Regions from separate parts of the Homo sapiens genome. Here region 1 is linked to region 2. The links are contacts of gene promoters, found by promoter capture Hi-C in human tissues and cell types (Jung and others, 2019). All regions are on one chromosome and are shown on one strand. The core of a region is centred on a gene start or on the middle of the fragment in contact, and the rest is flanking DNA. Distances in the headings are between cores, read along the strand shown. Region 1 has its middle 17 kb from the start of MIR107. Region 2 holds the start of RPP30 (ribonuclease P/MRP subunit p30).

Region 1 (4,200 bases), core at 1,455-3,954, 1.3 Mb after region 2:
AAATAGCCAAGTCTACAGAGACAGCAAGTAGATTAGTGGTCTCCTAGGGCTGAGAATTTGGTAGAAATGAGGAGTACTGCTAATATGTATGAGGTTTCTTTTGTGGTGATGAAAATATACTAAAATTGATTGTAATGATGGTTGCATAATTCAACTAAAAGTCATTGAATTGTACACTTTGAATGGATTAATTGAATGGTATGTGAATTATAGGCATATGTTGTTTTATTGTGCTTTGCTGATACTGTGTTTTCTACAAATTGAAGGTTGTGACAACTCTGCCTTGAGCAAATCTATTGATACTGTTTTCCCAGATTGTGCCCATTTCATGTCTGTTTGTCGCATTTTGATAATTCTTACAATATTTCAGACTTTTTCTTTATTATTATAATTGTTATGGTGATTTGTGATCGGTGATCTGTGATCAGTGATTGTTTTCTGGTGCCACAAATGTAAGACACTGAACTTAATCGGTATGTGTTGCGTTTTGACTGTTCCACTGACCTGCAGTTCTCCTATCTCTCTCCCTCTCCTCAGGCCTCCCTATTCCCTGAGACACAAAAATGATGAAATTAGCCCACTTACAAACCCTACAATGGCCTCTAAGTGTCCAAGTGAAAGGAAAAAATCACACATCTCTCATTTATTAGAAACTAGAAATGATTAAGCTTAGTGAGGAAGGCATGTTGAAAGCTGAAATAGGCTAAAATCTAGGCCTCTTGTGCCAGTTAGCTAAGTTGTGAATACAAGGAAAAGTTCCTGAAGGAAATTAAAAGTACACTCTAGTGAACACACAAATCATAAGAAAGCAAAACAGCCTTGTGGCTGATATTAAGTTTTATGTCTGGATAAAAGATCAAACCAGGCACAACATTCCCTTAAGCCAAAGCCTAATCCAAAGCCAAGCTCTAATTCTCTTCAGTTCTTTGAAGTCTGAGAGAGGTGAGAAAGTGGCAGTAGAAAAGTTGGAAGTTAGCAGAGGTTGGTTCATGAAGTTTAAGAGCAGAAGTTGTCTCCATAACATAAAAGTACAAGGTGAAGCAGTAAGTTATCCAGAAAATGTAGCAAAGATCATTGATGAAGGTGGTAACACTAAACAACAGATTCTCAATGTACACAAAACAGCTTTCTATTAGAAGAAAAGACGACCTCGGACTTTCCTAACTAGACATGAGAAGTCAATGTGTAGTTTCAAAATTTCAAAAGACAGGCCGACTCTCTTTTTAGAGGCTTATGCAGCTGGTGACTTGAAGGTGAAGCCAATGCTTATTAACCATTCTGAAAATGCTAGGGCCCTTAAGACTTATCTCCTCTGCCTGTGCTCTATAAACGGAACAACAAAGCTTGGATAACAGCACATCTATTTATAGCATGGTTTCCTGAATATTTTAAGCTCATTGTTGAGACCTGCTTCTCAGAAAAAAGATTCCTTTCAAAAGATTTCTTTCATTGACAATGCACCTAGTCACTCAGGAACTCTGATGTAAATGTACAAAGAGATTAATGTTTTCCTACTTGCTAATCCAATATCCATTCTACAGCCCACAGATCAGGGAGTAATTTCAATGTTCAAGTTTTATTATTTAAGAAATACATTTTGTAAGGCTATGGCTGCCATAGATACTGATTCCTCTTATGGGTCTAGGCAAAATAAGTTGAAAACTGTCTGGAAATGTTTTACTATTCTGGATGCCGTTAAGAATATATGTGATCCATGGATGGAGGTCAAAATGCCAACACTAACTGGAGTTTGGAAGAAGTGGATTCCAACCCTCACGGATGAATTTGAGGGGTTCAAGACTTCAGTGGAGAAAGTCACTGAAGATGAGGTAGAAATAGCAAGAGAACTAGAATTAGAAGTGGAACCTGAAGAGATGACTGAATTTCTGCAGTCTCATGATAGAACTTGAAAGGATGAGGAGTTGCTTCTCACGGACAAGCAAAGAAAGTGGTTTCTCGAGATGGAATCTACCCCTGGTGAAGACACTGTAAACATTGTTGAAATGACAACAAAGGATTTAGAATATTGCATAAATTCAGGTGATAAAGCATCGGCAGGGTTGGAAAGGATTGACCTCAATTTTGAAAGTCCTGTTGTGGGTAAAATGCCATCACATGACATCACATGCTGCAGATAAATCTTTTGTGAAAGAAAGAGTCAACAAATGTGGCAAACTTCATTTTTGTCCTATTTTAAGAAATTGCCACAACCTTCAGCAACCACCACCTTGATGTCAGCAGCCAAATACATTGAGATGAGACCCTCTACCAGCAAATAATTAGTACTGGCTAAAGGCTCAGATGATTATTAGCATTTTTTGGCAGTAAAGTATTTTTGAAATTAAGGTATCTATATTTTTTAACACAATGCTATTGCAAACTTAACAGACTATAGTATATTCTAAACATAACATGTACATCTGCTGGGAAACAAATTCATGTGACTTGATTGCCTGGGTCTGAAAACAAAGTTGCAATTTCTCCAACATATGCCTATATATTAATGAAATATATAAAAAGCAATGTAAATTAGAAGACTGAAAAGAACCATTGGAATATAGCACAAAACTGAAATTATATATGTTAATTGGATGTTTTTTTTTTGACCTGTGTGGTATTATTTTCAATTTTGTAAAATATTCCACTTGTTACTTTTGCTTTTCCACTAGTTTTTTTCCTTGTACATTTCTTGAATTATGACATTTCTGGAATCAACCACTAAGCACATTTAGTCAAACGTGTGTGGCCCACAGTTGGTGTGGTTAATACTAAGGGCACTGTGACATAAATTCAAGTAGCCTCAATACCATTTGCGTAATTTGTTTTAACAGATGGATTTTCTTTTTAAATTTTTTGCAGTTATGGCTTAAGGAGAGTTTAAAATTTTCTTTTAGGCTATAAGGCAACCAGAAAGAATTAGACAGTTTTTGTATTGGATTGTTCTTCTCTTTTCTCTTCCACTTCACTTTGTTCATGAAATTTGCTGTTGCTATTTTAGCAAAGTTCAACATCTAAAGAATTTATGCCATTTGGCTGCCATGACACAGATATAAATTATGTTTGTTTTACCACATTCCATAGTGAGGTAGGTGGTGTATGTCTTCTCATATATCTTGAAAATATATGTAAAATTTAATTTTAAAGACAACTTAAACTTTAAAATAATTATTTTTCATTAACTACTCAAGCTTATTTATCCTGACATATGAAATATATTTTCATGATATATTCTTAAACTTTTCTAGCATTCATATTCTCTATGCATATTTGGATGTGTACGTGTTTTTGGCATATTGGGGAAGAGATAGTTAATCCTGCAAGTTGTGGATCTAGAGTTTGTATTAAAATTATTATTTAGGAAGAGTACATTTTTAAGCTTAATATTTGAACAGTTTGTCAAATGTCACTTTATTTTAAATATAAGCCAAAAGTATTTTTGAATTAAGCTCCATAAGTGGGTTGAAATTTGGTAAATTAAACATTATTGTGAATTTTAAACATTTTTAGGCATTCTCCTTTGAGATTTGTTTACTATTTATATTGGCTTTATACATTTTAAAATGAGCAGTCACTTTTCTGTCTGTCTGTTCATGTGCCAACATCAACATTGAATTTATCAAGTAGTTATTTATACAATGTTTAGACAGGCAAAATGAAATGGAGAAGTGGGGCAATTATCTGTAGATCCCACCCACACAACTTTCAGCAACTCTAGAGAAAATGGTGTGGTTGTCCAGAACAATTGAGTTTTGTTGGCTGTGCCCTGAACATTTAGTCAATTACACAATTCTTCGTGTCCTTTAGCCTGTGTTTCTACAGTCCCTGTCTGACCTCAGCTGCTCATGGTAGTCTTCTGTGGTCCTTAATTAACTATGAAGATTATCTCAGCAAAATCAAGCTGTAGGGGTCTTTGTCCATGGAATGTTAAGGACCATTTCATCTATGGCATAATCCATTTTAATGGCCATAGAGAGAGATTTTATGAAGATATAGCCACACTTAGAAATTAACTGCCTGGCGCGGTGGCTCACGCCTGTAATCCCAGCACTTTGGGAGGCCGAGGCGGGAGGATCACGAGGTCGGGAGATTGAGACCATCCTGGCTAACACGGTGAAACCCCATCTCTAACTAAAAATACAAAAAAAAATTAGCCAGGTGTGGTGGCGGGTGCCTGTAGTCCCAGCTACTCAGGAGGCTGAG
Region 2 (4,353 bases), core at 1,048-3,547:
AAGGGCTTGCTTTATTATCCTCATCAGTTAGCACTGTTCTGGACATTTGGGCTACCAAAAAAAAATCTAAATCATGACTCCCATCTTTAATTTTTAAAAATACCAATGGGGATGAAAGGATATTAACATTAAAATACATATCAATGCCAAACTCTCAACAGTTTGTCCAACTTCCTTCTTCCCTTCCTCCCTCAAATATTTACTGAGCATCCATTACTTGACAAGCCCTAAACTGGTGTTGAGCATACAGGATAAATAATATAATCCTTCTCCACAAGAAATTTACAGCCTAGTCTGTTGGAGAACGAAGGCAAATAAGGCAATTAAGCAAGTCATTGTATATAAATACATGTTTTTTATAAGTAAGGATTCTATGGAAGTACATAGCACAGTGAAACCTGGTGTAGGGGTCACAAAAGGCTCCCTGAAGAAAGTTACCCTTAAAAACAAAAAAAAAATCACAAGTATGCCTGTACCTTGGGCTTCACCTTGCACCCAGTTAGTCAAATCAACCAGCCACACCTCCTCCCTATTCTTCTTTACCACACTCCCAAATCTGCTCTAAACTTCCTTGTTATACCCATTTAGGATATCCTTTTGGCTACTAAACAATGTCCCTACCGTTCTACAGAAATGTCAACTAGGATCTGTTTCTCCACAAAACTTTTTCCTAGACTACTCCTCATCTGGCAGCTTAGGAGTACTTACTTCCCCAATCAGGCTTTAGGGTATTTTAATTTACACAGTATATTTCTGAAGCTTATTATTGGTTTCTTGTATCACATCAGAAACTGAGAACCAGGGCTCTGTCTTTCCTATTCTTTGCAAATGTCCACTATTTAGTTCCAGACTCATCAAATAGCAGAGCAGTCCTTTGTCTTTGACTTGTAAGTTGAGGCAACTTTATATGCCATGAATTCCATTTAATTTACAAACAAATAACCACTAACAATGTACATATATTACCACACCTCTTCCAAGTGTATTTTAAACTGGGGGAAATTCTCTAAAGAAATCATTATTAACTTTTCTTTTTTGTATTAATTTTTTTAATGTGTTCAGTTTATTCCACAAGCATTAACTGAGTAACTGCCATGTACTGGTGCCTGCAGAGTGAACGTGTTAAGCACAGTAAATAAAAGGATAAGACATGGCAATTCTCTTAGGAAGCTCATGATTTATTCAAAAATGGGATGGCGTCAGGAAAAGCCTCATTGAGGAGGTAATAATTGCGACAAACTACACCTAGGAAAACTTATTTTACAGGATCAAAGAACATTAGCGCCAAATGGCCCAGATCATCATGTCTACTTTCGTCTTCGTGCTGATGAGCAAAGTACCACAGAGATAACGTTCATTTAGTGGCAGCAGTGGAAAGGGACAGTCATTTCGCCACGGATACTTCATAAAGAGAACAATAAAAAAGTGGTGTGATTCACTTTGCCAAGAAGTGGTTGTCATTTCTAGCACCACCTCTGAACAGTATCAGTAATCAGAACTCACAATGAGCTGAAAACTGTCTCTGAGGAGCAGATGTTACTACACGAACCTCTTGATTCTTTTTAATCTCTCTATTCCAACACTTTACAGTCTACGGAATACAGAACCCATGACTAACTCCAATAGTTAAAACAGGTTCTCGTCTCTCAAGGCTTTCGCTTCCCTTCGATTTGGGCCATGCTATCCTCCTCCTCCACCTCCACTCCGCTGTGTATGTCCTCTGCCCCCACCTACCCTCTCTCTGTCTAGATAGTATTGTTCCAACACTCCCACGTCCTCCTCCTTCTCCGAGCCTCCACGGCGCTTCCTGTCCGTGCCCCAAATTCCAGTATTTGTTTAGACACTGTCGTGAGAATCAGGAAGGGCTGATAGTAACTTAGAAGCTTAGAAGATTGTACCCTTGGAGTCCAGCTCCGGCTTCTGTCACCTATCAGCTGTAGGCCCCTATGCAAATCCCTCGCCCTCGTTAGGCCTCAGTTCCCTCATTGCAGGAAAGTAGCTGAACCAGATAACAACCCCCAGAACCTTCGAGTTTCCCGCGCTAGGAATCAGACCAACACCTCGGCGGGCATCAGCCTCCAGGGACATCCCAGAGACTCTGGGAGACCTGACCGAGACCCATCAGGAAATAGTTACTCCGGAGTGTGGCCCGATGGTCTGGGTGGCATGAGGTTGGCCAGGCGCGAAGCCGGGGCAACTCACGGTGAGCGGCTGTCTCCACAAGTCCGCGCAGAGCCTTCAGGTCAGAACCCGCTCGCAGGTCCAAATCTGCAAACACCGCCATGCTGAAGTCCCATGACCGTCCGCGCGCGCCAGTCTGCGCAGCCGCTGAGCCCGCCCCTCAGGCATGCTGGGAGCTGTAGTTAACCTGCGCAGTCCGTCTCTACCTCCAGTTGACTAGGGATTCGGAGAAACTTACTTGCTTTGCTTTCATCTACCACCAGAATTTGTGTGTTGAAATCAACAGCTTCATTTCAATCTCTCTTTGTCTTCTTCTGAACGACAATGTTTGGTTCCCCCTGGAGGGGTTCCAATTCCCAACTATTCAATACTCCTATAAAATAGTGTAGAAATGAATTCATTCAAAATGCACGCACACGGTATCTACTTAGTGCTGCTCATGAATCAGAGAATTCTGCTAATGGGTGAAAACGCTATTTAAAGAGTCTTAAAGAACACGTTTTCCTTTCCTTTCCCTAAAGTCCATTCCGTTGTTTACAATGGACTTACCGGGAAGAAGGCGTTTGTGTGTGACGGACTCTAGGACTTCAAAAGAGAACTACCCCAAGACGAGGGTCTTTTTACCCAATCAGAACTGTTGATGTCAAAGCCCGCTATTCTCTGTGGCAGTCAACATCTTCAACCACAAGATGGCGGGACTCGCTCTAGGACGAGCGGTTAGAGCCAACATTGATTTAGCCAAAGACATGTTTGAAAAGGGAGGTGCAAAATTGAGATGTTTTACACTTTTCCAGCTGAGAAATGTACAAGGTGACGCATATCCCACATATCTGATGTTTCCACTTTTTTCCGACTTAGTGTAAATGATCTATTGAGGATAATAATCAATTATACTACAAAAGTGTGACTATAGTTTACATCAGTGCTCTCAAACTACCTGTGATGAAGGATCAGTTTCTCCCTCCTTTTCCTCTACCCCCAAACTCTTCGCGAACCAGGATGTGGTCCTTTATGCATTACCAGTAAGCAGCCTGGCCTCATGGGAATCACAAATTTGACAACACTCGAACTGCCCTATACCTGGCTGAATAGAATCTGCTGATCAGGAGCTTGGATTATCAGGACAATGCCAAAGTACTGTAAACTTTCTAAACATCTTCACTTTTTGTTTGTTTGTTTGTTTTATTAACGTGCGCACAGCAACAACAATCACAGAATTAGAGGCTCGGTCATTTGACCTAGGGAGTATCCTAGTTGGTGGCCTGCTGAGTTTTCGTTTCGTTTTGTTTTGTTTTTAGAGAGAGTATCTCGTTATTGACCAGGATGGACTCTAACGCAAGCAATCCTCTCTCCTAGCTGTGATTACAGGAGCCCACCCACATGCTTCACCCATCAATTTCTCTTATTTACTGATCACAAACAGTTCACAGATAGTCTCTCGTCTATGGACCACACCTTAACTAGTACTCCTTTATGCGATTTTCTTGTCGGTCTCAGAAGGGAGGAAGGATCTGTTCCATGCAGTAGCATGCAATTCTCTTCTTGGTTAACTTTTGTAAAGAAGAGATATTTTGCCTTTTCCAGTACTTGATATTTCCTAAGTGGGAGTAGAAGAGAATATTACTTCTGCAAATAGAATAAGGTCATATGAAGCAAACGCTTTGTTTTTCATGAGAATATCTAGTGTTAATTTTGCAGGGTCACACAGGCATCATCACCTATGACCATAACAATCTAGATTGGTCAGAAATATGACCAATGTGTGGTGAAGGTGAATAAGGTGATAGTTCAATTATTTTTTCATTTTTAGTTGACACATTGTAATTATACATATTTATAGGGTACAATTTCATGTTCTGATACATGTATATGTTGTATAATGAACAAATCAAGGTAATTAGCATATTCATCACCTCATGCATTTTTGGTGATAACATTAAAAAAAACTCTTCTAGCTGTTTCGTGATATATAAACAATACCTTACTGTTAACCATAGTCACCTTGTGTGCAATACAACATCAGAACTTATTCCTCCTATCTAACTTTGTACCTGTTGACCAACCTCTCCCCATCCTCCTCCCTCAATCCCTCCCTCAATACCAATCAGTTGGCTATAGGTGCATGCATTTATTTTTGGTCTCTCTATTCTGTTACATTATTGGTCTATGTGT

Evidence for each region. The method cuts DNA at HindIII sites, captures the fragments that hold promoters and counts their contacts. A contact is called where the count stands out against the background at its distance.
Region 1: a fragment that was not itself captured here is called in contact with the fragment with the promoter of RPP30 in region 2 in 1 of the 25 tissues and cell types used here (mesenchymal stem cells).

Annotation. Positions count from the first base shown.
Region 1 is chr10:89,574,079-89,578,278 of GRCh38, reverse strand. No RefSeq gene overlaps it. Among named protein-coding and RNA genes, the nearest start is that of MIR107, 17 kb to the left of the region's middle. The HindIII fragment of the contact is 3,395 bases long and covers 1,007-4,200 here.
Region 2 is chr10:90,869,918-90,874,270 of GRCh38, reverse strand. RPP30 (ribonuclease P/MRP subunit p30) reads right to left here and starts at 2,297. Exons shown (of 11, transcript NM_006413.5): 1 at 2,203-2,297. The coding sequence starts at 2,284. RefSeq lists enhancers at 1,987-2,046, 2,177-2,446, 2,165-2,459. The HindIII fragment of the contact is 15,308 bases long and covers 1,322-4,353 here.